Regions from separate parts of the Homo sapiens genome. Here region 2 is linked to region 1. The links are contacts of gene promoters, found by promoter capture Hi-C in human tissues and cell types (Jung and others, 2019). All regions are on one chromosome and are shown on one strand. Each heading gives the region's core, a stretch centred on a gene start or on the middle of the fragment in contact. The rest is flanking DNA. Distances are from core to core; before and after follow the strand shown. Region 1 holds the start of HP (haptoglobin). Region 2 overlaps PMFBP1 (polyamine modulated factor 1 binding protein 1).

Region 1 (5,120 bases), core at 1,118-3,617:
ACATGAGGTAGGCTGCATGGCATCGCCTCCCCTTAACAAAACAGAAAACTTGAGGCTGACAAAAGTTAGTCTGCCCAAAGGGCCATGGCTACTGGCGACAAAACGCTTATTAGAATCTAAATCTCCTGGCTCCAAGGAGAGCAACGAACTTTCTGGCGAATCACCTCAGCACCACCCATCATGGAAATGTCAGAGAAGGGGGTTGTATGTAGGGCATGGAGACAGTTGTCCACATCTTACCATCTCCTTCTGTGCGCAGTTTGTAGTAGTTCTTACACTGGTAGCGAACCGAGTGCTCCACATAGCCATGTGCAATCTCGGGGGGCTTCGGGCAGCCGTCATCTGCAAAGAGAGAGAAGCCAGAGAGTTTGCTATTTGGAAATTGTTCCCAGTGAACCGTGAAAAGTCAGATGAGCGGGAGCTGCTCTGCACATCAATCTCCTTCCACCCCGAATAGAAGCCAATGGAAAGGCAAGCTCCCCTCATTTCTGGCAGGAACCCCAATGTTCTTTATGGTCCTGAAAGCCCAGAGGTCGAGATAAGAAGGGGGAATTGGGTGTTCTCAGAGAGAGTGCAGACCCGAGAGGGTCAGAGTGGGATGCACACTCCTACCCAACCAAAGACTGACCTGCGATATCCGTGACATCATTGCCTGAGTCCACTGCAAAAAGCTGTCCCCAGAGCAGGAGGGCAATGACAGCTCCCAGGGCACTGCAGAGAGAAGACAAGGAGGAGTGGAAAGCTAGTCTCCCTGCTTCACAGCACATGCATGCATCCACACACACATGCATGTACACACACACACACACACATGCATACACACACACTCCTCCCACTTAGCAGCCAGAAAAGAAAGTCGATATATGGAAGTGCTAGGACCAAGAAATTGCCCCCACACCTGCCCATACACACTTTAGCAGCTTCTGAGCATACCAAGCTTCCAGCAAGCCCTGTCCTGCTGGGAATTCTGCAGAAGCTTCAGAGAGGGATAGAAAGGCACATAGGTGGAGGGGTGGGCTCAGTTTCTGGCTGCATTCAGGAAAGTACATTGGCAATAATACAGGAGCCCTCCAGGAAAGAGAAACCTCCCTCAGACACCGCAAAGATAGTGGTAATAAAATGTAGATAACTCAGAGATGGGAACTTTGGGCTTACTGTGCTATTCCTCTACTTCTTGATATTTTCCGTAATAAAAGGTTCCTTAAATATATAATTTTAAACACGTGGGTATTTCTAGTATTTTATAATAATTCACCTTTAGGAAATGGTATCTGAAACCCCAAAATGCCAGAAGGTTACCTGGAAGAGAACTGGTGTCCAAAAGCAGGACGGTGGCCATGGGCATTGACCCACAGGTGCCGTCTGCCAGTTCACCATCTCACTAACAAATGCCAACCATTCGGGCACTACTTGCTTCTATTAAAATAGTTTCTAGGCCAGACACGGTGGCTCATGCCTGTAATCCCAGCACTTTGGGAGGCCAAGGCAGGCAGATCACGAGGTCAAGAGATCGAGGTCATCCTGGCCAACATGGTGAAAGCCCGTCTCTACTAAAAATACAAAAATTAGGTGGGCATAGTGGCGCACGCCTGTAGTCCCAGCTACCTGGGAGGCTGAGGCAGGAGAATCACTTGAACCTGGGAGGTGGAGGTTGCAGTGAGCCGAGATCATGCCACTGCACTGCAGCCTGGTGACAAAGCGAGACTCCATCTCAAAAAAAAAAAAAGTTTCTAGTCTTATTATTTCAACATTTCAAAAAGTGTTTATTTTTATAAGATCTAAGTGCCTTAATTAGATGTATCCCAGGTATTAGTGTGTATCCCAGGTACTAGTCAATTAATTGTGTCATTCAAATGTGTTACTATTAGTCTTCCTTATTGTACATTTTTAAAGAGGAAAATATCTGCTAATAAATATACTCAGGATGCCAGGAAGCCTACCACGGGAGCTGATGACATACCCTATAAAGTCAAAAATGTAACCTGAAGGAAAAAGACACTCCTGAGAGTAAATCTTATCTCCTGGGAAAGACAGCAGCACTGTCTTCTATGGATGCAGAAAAGGAGAAGATTTAACACACTAAGCCCTTTGGTTCACTATAATTTAGCCCATTTGCCCGTTTCTTTGTTCTATTTCTGCATCTCTACCGATGTATGCAAAAAAGACTGAAATAAAGAACCAGAGGAAAGGCAGGAGGGAAAGCTGTGGACCCACCTCATCTTGGTTGGTCTTGCCTCTGGAAGAGCAGTGCTGTGGGGCATCTGCTGGTCTTTTTATGCTGCCACTAGCTCACTTCTCCCCCTTCTCCATTTCGTAATTCCTGTGTCTACAAACTTTGGCCCTGGTAAGGTCACTATCTTTTCCAGTAACAAAACCACAAACAATACCCCTGTTAAGAGTTGAGCTCTTGCTTCACACTTGATTTTCTTGTGATGTTCTATTACAAATCCCAAGAAACCTGGCAACTCTATGACCCACAAACCTGCCAAAGTATTTCCTGAAATCAGCAACTGGGCAGGACAGGGCGGCGGCAGGAACCATCAATCTGTCTCTTTATCTTGGAGGATTTTCACACTGCAGAAAGGCTCATTTTGAGTTTTTTCAAACCCATTGTAGACATTTCTGCAGCCTAGCTTAGGTGGGGCTCTAAAGAAAGTACTTCCTTTTCACAGTAATTTTCTCCACCTTGTGTGTGGCCATCTCCCTATTGCTTAAAAGCTCTCCAGCCTGAAATCAGTAAATGTGTTTATTGTGTCTTCTCTGATTGCTCTTTGCAAGAAATCACACAACTAGTTAAAGCTATAGTGTAGACTGACACAGACTATACTCAATGGCAGTGGTTCTCATGGTTTTATAGTCTGGTGATTAGCCTAAATAGGCAGATGAGAAAAATCAATATGTCTCAGTCAAATGTCTGCACCTGTGTGTATCCCAGGTACTAGTCAACTGAAACTTAGTAGCAACTCAATACAAGGTTGATTTATTCATTAAAAAGGGTTAGTTGTTCTTAAATTAGAGTGTACAAAAGAATTACTTTTGGATAATCATGGTGACACTGATATAATAGCAAAGTAACTAGAAACAAGACAAATGCCCATCAACAGGAGGAAGGGTCAATACTGCATTGTATGTGGATATAATGGAATATTATACAGCATAAAATGAATAAACTCTGCAAGAACATGGATCATCTTATAAACATAATTTTTGAAAGAAAACCGCAAGTTTCAGAAGATTACCTTCAGTATGATGGCAGTCTTCTAGAGATCAAAACCAAGTAAAACTTGGCAATGGATTCTTAGATAATGACACCAAAATCACCAGCAATCAAAGAAAAATTAGATAAATTGGGCTTCATCGGAATGAACATTTGTGTATCAAAAGACAGTATTAATAAAATGAAGACAGGCCAGGCGTGGTGGCTCACGCCTGTAATCCCAGCACTTCGGGAGGCTGAGGTGGGCGGATCATGAGGTCAGGAGTTTGAGACCAGCCTGACCAATGTGGTGAAATTCCATCTCTACTAAAAATACAAAAATTAGCCAGGCATGGTGGCGCATGCTTTAATCCCAGCTACTCGGAGGCTGAGGCAGGAGAATTGCTTGAACCTGGGAGGCAGAGGTTGCAGTGAGCCTAGATCGCACCACTGCACTCCAGCCTGGGTGACAGAACAAGACTCTGTCTCAAAAAAAAAAGTGAAGACAGTCTACAGAATGGGAGAAAATATTTGCAAATTCTATATCTGATAAAGGGTTGTTATCCAGAGCATATCCTAACTACAACAACAAAAAGACAAACAATTAAAGCATGGGCAAAGGATTTAAATAGACATTTCTCCAAAAAATATACATAAAGTGCCAAAAAGCACATAAAAGATACTCAAGGCTGGGGAGTGACTCACACCTGTAATCCCAGCACCTTGGGAGGCCGAGGTGGGTGGATCACCTGAGGCCGGAAGTTTGAGACCAGTCTAACCAATACGAATATGGTGAAACCCCATATTTTCTAAAAATGCAAAAATTAGTCAGGCGTGGTGGCATGCATCTGCAGTCCCAGCTACTACTTGGGAGGCTGAGACAGGAGAATTGCTTGAACCTGGGAGGCAGAGTTTGCAGTGAGCTGAGATCGCACCACTGCACTCCAGCCTGGGCAACAGAGCGAGACGTCGTCAAAAAAAAAAAAAAAAAAGTCACTCAACACCATTGGAAAATGTCAATAGGGAAATTTGCAAATCAATACCACAATGAAACACCACTTCACACCTACTAGGATGGCTACAAATTTGTGTGTGTGTGTGTGTGTGAGAGAGAAATGTTGGCAAGGATGTGGAAGAGTTAGAACCCTGGTACATTACCTTGCTAGTAAGAATGTAAAATGGTGCAGTTGCTGTAGAAAACAGTTTTATCGTTCCTCAAAAAGCTAAGCATAGAATTGCCATCTGACCCAGCAATTCCACTTCAGGGTATACACCCAAAGAATTAAAATCAGAGACTCAGAGACGTGTACACCAATGTTCATAGCAGCATTTTCACAGTATCCAAAAGGTAGAAGCAATCCAAGCGTCCATCCACAGACAAATGGATAAACAAACTGTGATATCTACATACAATGGAATATTATTCACGTATAAAAAGGAATGAAGTTGATACGTGCTACAACATGAATAAACCTTGAAAACATACTAAGTGAAAGAAGCCAGACATAAAGGGACAAATATTACTTGATTCCACTTATAATAAAGTATCTAGAGAATAGGCAAATGCATAGAAGAAAAAGTAGGTTAGACTTTACTAGGGGCTGGGAGAAGCAAGAAATGGGAAGTGATTGCTTAATGGGTACAGAGTTCCTGTTTGGGGTGATGAAAAAATTTTGGAAACTGATAGTGGTGATGGTTGCACAACATTGCTGGTGTAATAAATGCTGCCGAATTGTACACTTCAGAATGGTTAAAATCGGAAATTTTATGTTACAAATATTTTAGCACAAAAAATTCAAGAAGTAAATAAGTAAACTTATTTTTATTGGAGAAAGAGAAAGAAAGAGAAGGAAGGAAAGAAAGAAAGAAAAAGAAGAGAGAAAAGGAAGGAAGAAAGAGAAAGAAAGAAGACTCAGCAGTATGT
Region 2 (5,120 bases), core at 855-3,354, 74 kb before region 1:
CGGGCAGGCAGATGGCCCATTCAAGTGCTTGCTCTGCTTAAGATAAAACACAGACTAGGAGCAGTGGCTCACACCTGTAATCTCAGCTCTTTGCGAGGCCAAGGCAGGCAGATCACTTGAGCCCAGGGGTTCCAGACCAGCCTAGGCAACATAGCAAGACCCTGCCTTACAAAAAAAAAAAAAAATACAAACATTATCAGGGCATAATGGCACATTCCTGTAGTCCCAGCTACTTGGGAGGATGAGGTGGGAGGATCCCTTGAGGCTGGGAGATTGAGGCTTCAGTGAGCTGTGATCGCACCACTGCAGTACAGCCTAGGTGACAGAGTGAGACCCTGTCTCAAAAAAAAGAAAAAGATTAAACATATCAGTCATTATTTGGGAAAGATATCACCACCAATCCATGCAAATTAATTGACCAGAATTGTGTTAGTATGCTAAGCCAGCCACTCAGCACCAGCTCCCATTACCAGTAAGAAGCATTTTCAATGGTTAACCTTAAAATTAATCAAATGACAATGTTGTTCTTTCTAGGATTCAAAAGCTATTCTTATCAATTTATTTATTTTTTAAATAGTGCCCAGCAGTAGGAGATAATTGTCAGTCAATTTAAAGTCTTTGATCTCTGAGTTACTCTTTTTGTTCTCTTCTAAGATTTTTTAAACTTCATTCAAAAAGGTTTTTGATAAAGATTTGGAATCTTCCTAATCTTTGGGAAGAATTGGTAAGAAAGTGGGAGAGAAAGCTGGTGCTTAGGAATTAGATCAATAAATAAAATAAATTGGTATATCTGACTGAACAAAGAAAAAATGTTACAGGCGTTGGAGGAAACCTTTTATTTTACATATGCTATATAACTAAGGAATTGTCTTCTTCTTCATCTCAGCCATGCCCTGTGTGCAATTGTCTGTATTTTTCCCCCAAATATAATATAGTCTAAGACAGTCTTTCAGCTCAGTCTTTATTTTTTCAGCACAGGGAGCAAGGCTCCATCAAATGCAAGTTAGAAGAAGATCTTCAGGAGGCCACAAAGCTTCTGGAGGACAAACGGGAGCAGTTGAAGAAGAGCAAAGAGCATGAGAAGCTGATGGAGGGAGAACTTGAAGCTTTGCGGCAGGAATTTAAAAAGAAAGACAAGACGGTGAGTGGGAGAATCCCAGGAGAGCTGGGTCAGGAATCCAGAGCGGGACATGACCCCACCTGGGCCTCCAGGGATGCGGAGGCCCTGGATGCTCAGAGCTTAGGAAAGACGGGAGGGACAGTGGGAAAGGCCAGCGAGGAGGGGAGCGAGAATGCCTGAGCTCCCGCAGGGTGGAGATAGAGCTGGGTGAGAGGGAGGGTGGAGTGGGGCTTTTATAGTTATCTGAGATTAACACCTCTTTGCTGTGCTTTGTTCTTTAATGAGGGAACAGTTGAAAGAGAATTCCAGAAAGTTGGAGGAAGAAAATGAGAATCTCCGAGCAGAGCTACAGTGTTGTTCTACACAACTGGAATCCTCTCTCAACAAATACAACACCAGCCAGCAAGTCATCCAAGACTTGAATAAAGAGGTGAGTAGACAGGAACCCCAAGGGAGTGAGGAATTTGAACCCTGTGACCCTTGACCTGAAATCTGTACCCACCTCTCCTCCACACAGAAATGCAGCTAACTGCTCAGCCAACTGCGGATCCTGGGCCACCTACAGCTCTACTTCCCTCCCCATTGGCACCTGGTTGCTGAGCCAGAGAAATGTTTCTTCCATATGTGGAAGGTCTCATCTCATATCTGGTGGAGCCCCAAGCTATTTGGGCTTTGGCATCAAGTCTTCCAATGTTACATTTTAGACCAGAGTTGAGTGAATCCATTTTGGGGGGCAATTTGCTAGGGAACACTTCCAAAACTTGTCACAAAGCACAAAAAGGAGATGAAAGGGGGGACAGTTATTTTTCATTACACAAGTAAAAATGACAGAAAGGAGTAAATAGCATCTGACATATGCTAAGCACTGTGCTTGAATTCAGTCGTCATTTATTTGTCGTCCACTTAAGCTCTTTACATGGCTTCCATCTGCTTTACTGCCAAAAAGAAAGACATGATAGAGGAAAGAAAGATGGAGGGCCAAAGTCACTGACCAGCAAGTGATGGAATCAACCACTATTTGAACCTGAATTATCCAGCTCTAACACCTGTTCCCTTTCTCCCTCATCATAAGCAGCCATACTTTCTCCAGCTAAATCCATTCCATCTTTCTGGGCAAGAGAAAAATATAACACCTTGGTAGTTGGTCTCTTGGGCTACAAATGAAAGGCCAAGCAGCCCTTATTCCCTCATAATATAAAAATAAATCTTAAAGTAGTATGACTTTTCTAAGTATAAAAATAGCACTGCCCAGTAGAACTTGCTGCCTTTCTGTGATGATGGAAAAGTTGTATGTCTGAGCTGATGGAATGAATGTGAGAGAAAGTGAGGAATCAATGATGACTTCATGAAATTCACCTATAAAACCATCTAGACCTAATACCATTGACAGCAGAGAGAGTAGGTCTTTTATTAGAACTTTTACTAGAACTTCTTGGTTCTATAATTTACATACTTCTATATGTAGATTTTTAGAATCTTTCTCCAAGCTAAACCACTCATGTTAGCAAAAATTTTTAAAGCTTCCATTTTAGCTTCTAGCTTCACTGTAATTTTTTTTCACCATCCTCAGTTTTAGTGTCTTACCTCTATACTGACATTTCTCAGTTCAGCCATCATTTATCAAGCATTGACAGTGAATTATAGTTTCTCCAGTGATTCCTCTGGTTTACTGGGCAGACCCTGCTGACTCCATGTTTTTCAGAAGTCCCCAGAAAAGATGCACTTCTGTTTTCAGAAGACCAAATTATTTCATCTTTAGGAATAGTTTCACCACCAGGGCATGTAAAATATGGTGTCAGAAGTCCAATTTACCACTTTTCATCTCACTAATTCCCAGGGCCAGAGGTACTCAAAATTGTATCTGAAAAAGTAATAAACTTGAAGCACTGATCAGTTACTGGAGATAAAACAAGAAAACCCAAAAGAATGTGTTTCTGTGTGCATGGCCACTTTCAGATGCAGGTGTGCTAGAATACCAAAGAATACAAGTCAGGCATATGAATTTCTGAGGTCTCCCTCTGGCTTCCAGACTCAGAAGCAGATCTCTGTCCTGTACTTAAAGTATATAAGAAGGCTAGTTTCTGTGTGTGTCTGTGACAGTAACTCATAGTCGTATAGTAAAACAAAGCCCTTTTTACACATATCACCTCATTTGATCATCATAAAAACTCCACGAAACAGTTAAAATGATTTCAATTTGTGGAAGCAGAAACTGAGGCTAGAGAAATAAGTAAATGATAGAACCTGGACCTCAACCCAGATTTTTCTGACTCCAGATCCCAACTTCCTTTTAACTATACCATGAATACTCATTACGATGTTGAAAACAGACTTCAGTTTTTAAACACACTTCTACCAGAACTACATGTTCCCTAACATGTTGATCAATTGATCCCTAACTCCAAAAATGCAATATTTCACGTGACAGAACAAAGACCATTTTTGAGCATTTCCTGAAACTCTGTCATGTGCCATGCCCTGAGTTACAGCAATGGGGAAACAGCAGGAAACAAAACACAGGCACAGTCCTGCTTTCTGGCACATCAAGTCTAGTGAATTACATCAGGAACTAAGTGAGGCATAAAACACAAAGGACATGTTGTTATCATGTCCACTAACCTCAAATCGGATTCCAGGTCTTTATCAAAGGCTGCAGAGTATGTGAAAGGGACTTTTTTGTGTACTTGGCATATCATGCCCCAGCACCGCTGGTACTCCTGCTGTTTGAGGGAAATGCTAACTAGAAAGAGAGATGTGGCTGAGGGGTGCAAAAGAGCCTGGAAAGACAGCTCTACCTTTTACAGTGGTGAAGTGAAGATGTGAGTGTTAACACGGACTCTGCAGGTTGCTGCAGACAGGAGAGAGCTTGGCTCTTGTTCATTTCCTATAGGCACAGAGAATGCCTCTATGACCCTGACCTGGCACCCTGACAGTTCTGCTCTCCCTCCTTAAAGATAGCCCTTCAGAAGGAGTCCTTAATGAGCCTGCAGGCCCAGCTGGACAAAGCTCTGCAGAAGGAGAAGCACTATCTCCAGACTACCATCACCAAAGAAGCCTATGATGCATTATCCCGGAAGTCAGCCGCCTGCCAGGATGACCTGACACAAGCCCTCGAGAAGGTGAGGCCACACCCTCTAGTCTCCAGGGCTGTTTTCAGGCAAGGAAACGTCAAGGTAGCGGGAGAAGCACAGGAGCCAATTTCCTGCCTATTGACTGTCAATGGGGCCATCTCAAACCCTTGTGTGGGCTGGGATGTCTGTGCAGAGAAGGCCTGCTTCCTCTTTGTGAGGCTTGGAGTTGGGTGGAGGGCGGAGGAAGAGGACAAAGATCAAAACCAAATCTAGCAAGCCTTTCTGCCCATGGGTGACTCGGGGGCAAGGTTTTCCCAAAGTCTGGATTGTCAGGGAAATTCATGCCCCATCCTGTGCTGATCATGGCTGGCCCATCAATTCATGGGATTGGAAAGAGAAGAAATGGAGGGAGTGGGTAGGAAGGAGAAAGCAGGGTGCAGAAAACCAACCACTGTCATTTCCCACCCCTCTCTGGGAGACTAGGCAAGGTGACCGTCCGTGTCACCCTGGGCAGAGGACAGGAAGGGACTGGAACCCTCCTCCATTCAGGACTCAGCAGAGAGGGTCAAAGTCTCTGACAGCCATTCGTCCTCTTTGTCTTTTCCGGAAGCTCAATCACGTGACCTCAGAGACAAAGAGCCTGCAGCAAAGCTTGACACAGACCCAAGAGAAGAAAGCTCAGCTGGAAGAGGAAATCATTGCTTATGAGGAAAGGATGAAAAAGCTCAATACGGAATTAAGAAAACTGCGGGGCTTCCACCAGGAGAGTGAGCTGGAGGTGAGGAGCTGCCAGGGGCTTGGGCTGCCTTCCTGGTAGGGGTCCACAAGGTCACCTCTTGCATCCAGAATTATTTAGCACTAAGTCATTCCCTTGGGCTGCTAGGTTCCCTCCACTTTCTTGGCTCCCTGAACTTCAGACAGAGGCAGCA

Evidence for each region. Contacts are between HindIII fragments. The study calls those that stand out against the background at their distance.
Region 2: a contact is called between a fragment that was not itself captured here and the fragment with the promoter of HP in region 1, in 2 of the 25 tissues and cell types used here (H1 embryonic stem cells and pancreas).

The regions. Positions count from the first base shown.
Region 1 is chr16:72,051,752-72,056,871 of GRCh38, reverse strand. It overlaps HP (haptoglobin), which reads right to left and starts at 2,367. Exons shown (of 7, transcript NM_005143.5): 1 at 2,215-2,367; 2 at 629-711; 3 at 241-342. The coding sequence starts at 2,219. The HindIII fragment of the contact is 10,372 bases long and covers 1-5,120 here.
Region 2 is chr16:72,125,087-72,130,206 of GRCh38, reverse strand. It overlaps PMFBP1 (polyamine modulated factor 1 binding protein 1), which reads left to right. Exons shown (of 21, transcript NM_031293.3): 13 at 974-1,141; 14 at 1,413-1,550; 15 at 4,075-4,239; 16 at 4,802-4,969. Among named protein-coding and RNA genes, the nearest start is that of DHX38, 34 kb to the right of the region's middle. RefSeq lists enhancers at 1-183, 1,013-1,813, 4,150-4,651. The HindIII fragment of the contact is 3,275 bases long and covers 467-3,741 here.